Linked DNA regions of Homo sapiens: region 1 is linked to region 2. The links are contacts of gene promoters, found by promoter capture Hi-C in blood cells and fetal thymus (Javierre and others, 2016). All regions are on one chromosome and are shown on one strand. Each heading gives the region's core, a stretch centred on a gene start or on the middle of the fragment in contact. The rest is flanking DNA. Distances are from core to core; before and after follow the strand shown. Region 1 has its middle 8.6 kb from the start of GYG2. Region 2 holds the start of CD99 (CD99 molecule (Xg blood group)).

Evidence for each region. The method cuts DNA at HindIII sites, captures the fragments that hold promoters and counts their contacts. A CHiCAGO score of 5 or more calls a contact.
Region 1: a contact is called between a fragment that was not itself captured here and the fragment with the promoter of CD99 in region 2, in 3 of 17 cell types (fetal thymus, endothelial precursors and megakaryocytes). The highest score is 7.4, in fetal thymus.

Annotation. Positions count from the first base shown.
Region 1 is chrX:2,818,986-2,821,685 of GRCh38, forward strand. No RefSeq gene overlaps it. Among named protein-coding and RNA genes, the nearest start is that of GYG2, 8.6 kb to the right of the region's middle. The HindIII fragment of the contact is 2,099 bases long and covers 248-2,346 here.
Region 2 is chrX:2,690,029-2,692,728 of GRCh38, forward strand. It overlaps CD99 (CD99 molecule (Xg blood group)), which reads left to right and starts at 1,267. Exons shown (of 10, transcript NM_002414.5): 1 at 1,267-1,399. The coding sequence starts at 1,333. The HindIII fragment of the contact is 9,076 bases long and covers 1-2,700 here.

The sequences.
Region 1 (2,700 bases), core at 47-2,546, 130 kb after region 2:
CCATGTTGGCCAGGCTGGTCTTGAACTCCTGACCTCAGGTGATCTGCCCGCCTCAGCCTCCCAAAGTGCTGGGATTACAGGCGTGAGCCACTGCGCCCAGCCTTTTAAAATAATTTACATACTTTACACATGTACACATAAAAATGGATGTTGGTTGGATGTGGTGGCTCATACCTGTAATCCCAGCACTTTGGGAGGTCGAGGTGGGTGGATCACTTGAGCACTTGAGCCTTGGAGTTTGAGACCAAGCTTGGCGACATATCGAGACTCTGTCTCTACAAAAAAATTAAAAAATTAGCTGGGCGTGGTAGTACATGCCTATGGTCCTAGCTACTTCGGAGGCTGAGACAGGAGAATTGCTTGAGCCTGGGAGGTTGAAGCAGCAGTGAGCTCTGATTGCACAATTGCACTGAAGCCCAGGTGACAGAGCAAGACCCTGTCAAAAAAAAAGGATGTCAGTGATAATGAGTTGTTTATAAAGATAGAATTAGAGTTCCAGGGATGACTGGAGAGGTATAGTGTATTATAACCCCTACCATGTGCCCGTCAGGGACTGGTACTTAAAAGTCAAAACAGTAACTGCAGAATTTGAGAGGTGTACAAAGATAGTCTCTCAAATAGTGCTCAGTTATTAGTTCAGCGATGGTCAGTTTGTGCATAGCTATGAAACTAGCTTATCACGGTAAAAAGTGTGTACGCTTCACTATCTTGTAGCATTTAGTTTCCCAGCAGGGCCATGCGACACCCAGTGGACATTTCTAAATTGTACATTCAAAAAAATGTTACCACTGGCTGCAACATTTTTTTCATTAAACATAAAAGTTGGTCTTGGGGGTGTCATTCAATGCCTTTTCTGCTTCCTTCAGAATTCTAAAGGCTTCCACCACAACTTTGATCTGAGCCCAGTTATGAACTTCATACAAAGCTGCAGGGAGGAGCCTGTGTCTGTTGAAGAAAGGCTCACAAGATCCCATGGTAAGGGGAGAGGAGAAGGGGTAATGAGGAAGAAAGGCAGCTTTCCAGGGGCCGAGTCCGGAAGACCAGACTTGTCAGAGAATGGAACTAGCTTGTCCAGTCTCAGCCCATGAGAGAGTTTCACGCCACGTGCTATTCTGGTTCTGAACATTGAGCACTTGGGTGACTTGGAATGGCCTCCATCTAAGCTGCATCTTCCCCCATAGTTCCAAATATAAATGCAATGCATTCCCTGGGTTCCTGCCAGCCATTGTCACGTTTTTGCTTCACAGCTGTCTCCTCCCTGCTCCCCGTCCTATTCATCTGCCCCTTGCTAGACAGGTATTCATGAAACATGACTGCTTGTTTATGAATAGCTGGGATGTAGACATGACATACGGAAAGAGAAGCTGCCAATTTTTCCCCAACCAAAAGTGAAAACAGTGCTTGGACCTAACAAGCATAGAATGTTTGATCCCATAGCAGAGCTGGTGGGAAGGCTGGGGGCAAAATCTGACACTGTCCACCATTGGCTGTAGACCAAAGGGAGGCTGCAGACCAAAGGGAGGCCGCAGGGAGGTGAGATCATTTCAATCGCAGGTCCCCACCCACTACGAGCACTTCCTCACCCACATCCTCTGTTCTAATCTTTTCTGTCTATCTCTTATCAACTTCCAACATATGATAACGTATCACCTTTTATTGTTTCTCTCCCGGCTCCATCCCCACTAGAATGCAACTGCTACAAAGGCATGGATTTGTCCCCAGTTTCCAGAAACATGACTGGCATGTAGTAGATGCTCATTAAAGACTTATTTATTTATTTATTGAGACAATGTCTTGCTCTGCCGCCCAGGCTGGAGCGCTGCAGTGTGATCCTGGTTCACTGCAGCCTCAAACTCCTGGGCTCCAACGATCTTGTCACCTCAGCTTCCTGTGTAGCTGGCACAACAGGCATGTCCTACCATGCCTGGCTAATTTATTTATTGTTTTTGTAGAGACGGGGTCTCACTGTGCTTCCCAGGCTGGTCTCGAACTCCTGGGCTCTAGTGATTTTCCCACCTTGGCCTCCCAAATTGCTGGGATTACAGACTTGAGCCACCACGCCTGGCCCTAAAGACTTATTAAACACACGGGAAAATGAATGAATGAAGCCCTCGTTCAGGCCACAACTTTAATAATATTAAAGAGGAGATATTTTCTTTTGGTATTCTAGCTAAAGACTTTTGGGATGAGATGGATAGGGATATTAACAAATGTGTGTGTTTTTAAAAAATATACATATTATGAAATAAAACATCTGGAAGACCTCCATAACTCAATGAACCAATATTCTACAAATGACCCATGTGTGAAGTGGCAGAATCATGAATGGATAAAAGGTTTGTCTGAAGCTTAAGATAAACCTGTGGGTTTTAAATGTGTAGACTTTAAAAATTCAGTGATAGGATTTCAGATTCCACACTACCTTATCTTTGAGAAGCTATTGATGATCAAGTTTTGTCATCAAAGGAGAACATTCACAGTTATTTGAAAAGATTACTAAAATACTTTTTCTAACTATGTATCTTTGTGAGGCTAGATTTTCTTCATCTACTTTAACCTGAACAACATAAGGAATGCTGATCTGAGAAACTGGTTGTCTCCTCATAAGTCAGATATTAACAAGATTTGTAAACATGTAAAACAGTACACTCTTCCCCTATGAAAATTTTTCTGTTTGAAAAAATATATCCCATTTTTCAT
Region 2 (2,700 bases), core at 17-2,516:
GAAGTGTGGAATGCAAGAATATTCAGGGTTATTTGTCAGGCTGCAAAGTTGTTCCACTACCCTGCGGGAAAATGGATACAATTTTAGGCTTAGGTGTTAACAGATAACATTGTTAAGTGTGGGAAGGGCGACAACTGCACTGCAGCTGTGGCCAGTGGCGCGGGAGGGTGTCTAAACTCAAAGCCCACTGGAAGGCGAGTCGCCCATGACCAGGACTAGGGCCCAGGTGCCCCAGATAGAAGGCACCTCGTTCCCTATTGCCCCTCACTAACTCCCGTGACCAGGAGTCCCCACTCCCAACCTTGTCCTGGGGATTCTGGGGAGAAACTGCCCCAGCGCAGAGGCTACTCCAAGGGTTGTCCTTGGTCCGGCGCAAAGGGTTCGTCCGCCACCCTCCCGGCTGCGCACCCCGCGCTCGGACGCTCTAGAAAGGACTTGGGACGGGGGTTGCCTGTGGAGCGGGGGCCTAGGCTTCCTGAGCAGGGAGAGGATTGCACTTTGCTCCCCTTGGGGAACTCCCTGAGGTGAGCAGCGGGGAGGGGCCCCCATACTTTTCCCAGCAGGGGAGCCGGGAGTTTCCTCTGCTCCCACTGCAGAGCAGGGGAGGGTCCCTGCTAGGGGCGGAGAAGGGGCTGCAGGGGCGAGTGGGGAGGGGGGCTACACGTTTCCAAGAAGGGCGGCAGTTTCGTGTCGCTACAGTTGCAGGCGTGCATTTAGGAGGCTGTAGACAGGGAGGGACCCGCACTTTCCCGAGCAGGGGAGCTGCTGGGAAAGTTTGTTTTTTTGCTCCCACTGGAGACCAGGGGGTGAGGGGCGGAGAAGTGGCTGCAGGGGCGAGTGGGGAGAGGGGGCTCTATGTTTCCAAGAAGGGCGGCAGTTTTGTGCCACTACAGTTAAGGGCCGCCCTCGGGCGTGCATTCAGAGGGCTGTAAACCGGGAGGGACCCGCACTTTCCCGAGAACGTTGTAGTTCACTTTGCTTCGGGTCGGCGCCGCCCTGGCTACGGCCCTGTGGGTGGGTGAGGGGGCGTGGGCAGTTTCCTGAGAAGGGGCGGGGCGTGTACCGTACTCCCCTCGGCGCTGCCTGGGCCACCCCCGCCCGCCTACCCCCTCTGTCTCCTCCCCGGGCCCGGCGTTCCCGCCCCTTCTGTGCGCGCGTGGAGGCCGGGGCGGGGCGGGCGCAGCCGGCGCTGAGCTTGCAGGGCCGCTCCCCTCACCCGCCCCCTTCGAGTCCCCGGGCTTCGCCCCACCCGGCCCGTGGGGGAGTATCTGTCCTGCCGCCTTCGCCCACGCCCTGCACTCCGGGACCGTCCCTGCGCGCTCTGGGCGCACCATGGCCCGCGGGGCTGCGCTGGCGCTGCTGCTCTTCGGCCTGCTGGGTGTTCTGGTCGCCGCCCCGGGTGAGCGAGCGGAGGGATCCGGGTTGGGGGACGCGGAGGGCGCGGGCCGGGACTGGGGATCCGCTTGAGATGCGGCGTTGGGGGCGCCCCGCGGGGACACCCGGAGCCTCCTCCCTGCCCGGCAGGACGCGCTGTGCCCACGGGGGCCCAGGCCCGGAGGAGGCGCCCACTTTCTCCCCAACGCTTTTCCTGGAGCCGTTCCAGAGAGAAAAGTCAGCGTTTGTTGTCGGAGTTGCAAACTCTTACATGTGGGGCGGCCTTGGGAGAGGTGCGTCCGATTTTTCCCAATCTAGGGGACCTTCTTACAGATCTCTCTCCCTTTGCATGAGCCCCTCACCCCACCCCGTTATCTACCCCCAGGGTTTGGGGACCTGCGTCTTCAGGCCGCGCGCGGAGGCCGCCCTGGAGTTGCCTGTCACAGCCACGCCCTGCGTCCCGGGCCTAAATTTGGAATCGCTAGGAGCCTGAGACCCGGGTGGTGGGGGGAAGGGAAGGAAAAGTTAGAAAAAAACTTTGAGCCCTGAAAATGTTCAAAAATACTCTGTGGATGCGGGCTCCGGGAATTTCAGCGCGTGCTGTGCGCCAAGCAACACGGGGCGCAGAAAGAAACGTGTGCTTACCAAATTGTCCATCTGCGGCGGTGGAGAATTCGGAAAACAGAAAAAGTGGGCAGGGAAGAAAGAGCCACGGTCACCCTCCCACGCCCTAAACCGGGCCTATTTCTAATTATTACTTTAATCATGTTTTTCTGTTTCCCTCCCTTTGAAACGGAAACGGAGACCCTGCCGGATGTGGTATGTTATAAATTCTTTTTTCATGTTATAAATTCTTTTTTCAATGGTCAGTGCATTTTTTGCTCTTCGTATGGGCAGGCTTTTAAGTAGACCGGCTTGCGGGCAGTGTGGACTTCAGGACGGGCCTTATCAGGGCTGGACGTATTTAGGAAGGAGACGCGGGAACGCCCGGCCCTGGGGAGGACGGAGGAGGCCCGATTTGTGTTGATAGGATCTAGCTCAGCCTAGAGCTGCGGTGACTAGGCCGGGTCTCTATTTTTAGGGAGGAGTTGCTAATGGATTTACACCCTCTTTAAAGGGGTCCCGGGTATCCTAGAAATTGTGCTTTCACTTGGTAGAGATTAGAGATAATGAAGCCTGCTCCGTAGAGGAAAACTTGGAGGACTTTCCAGCCTGCAGGGGAGGTTCCAAGCAGAGCTTCCTGTTTCTCCCTTTTCTTCCTAAATGTCCTTCTTGCGGGCAACCTGTCACCACGGACGGGATGGCTCTGTAGGGTTTTATCAGCTG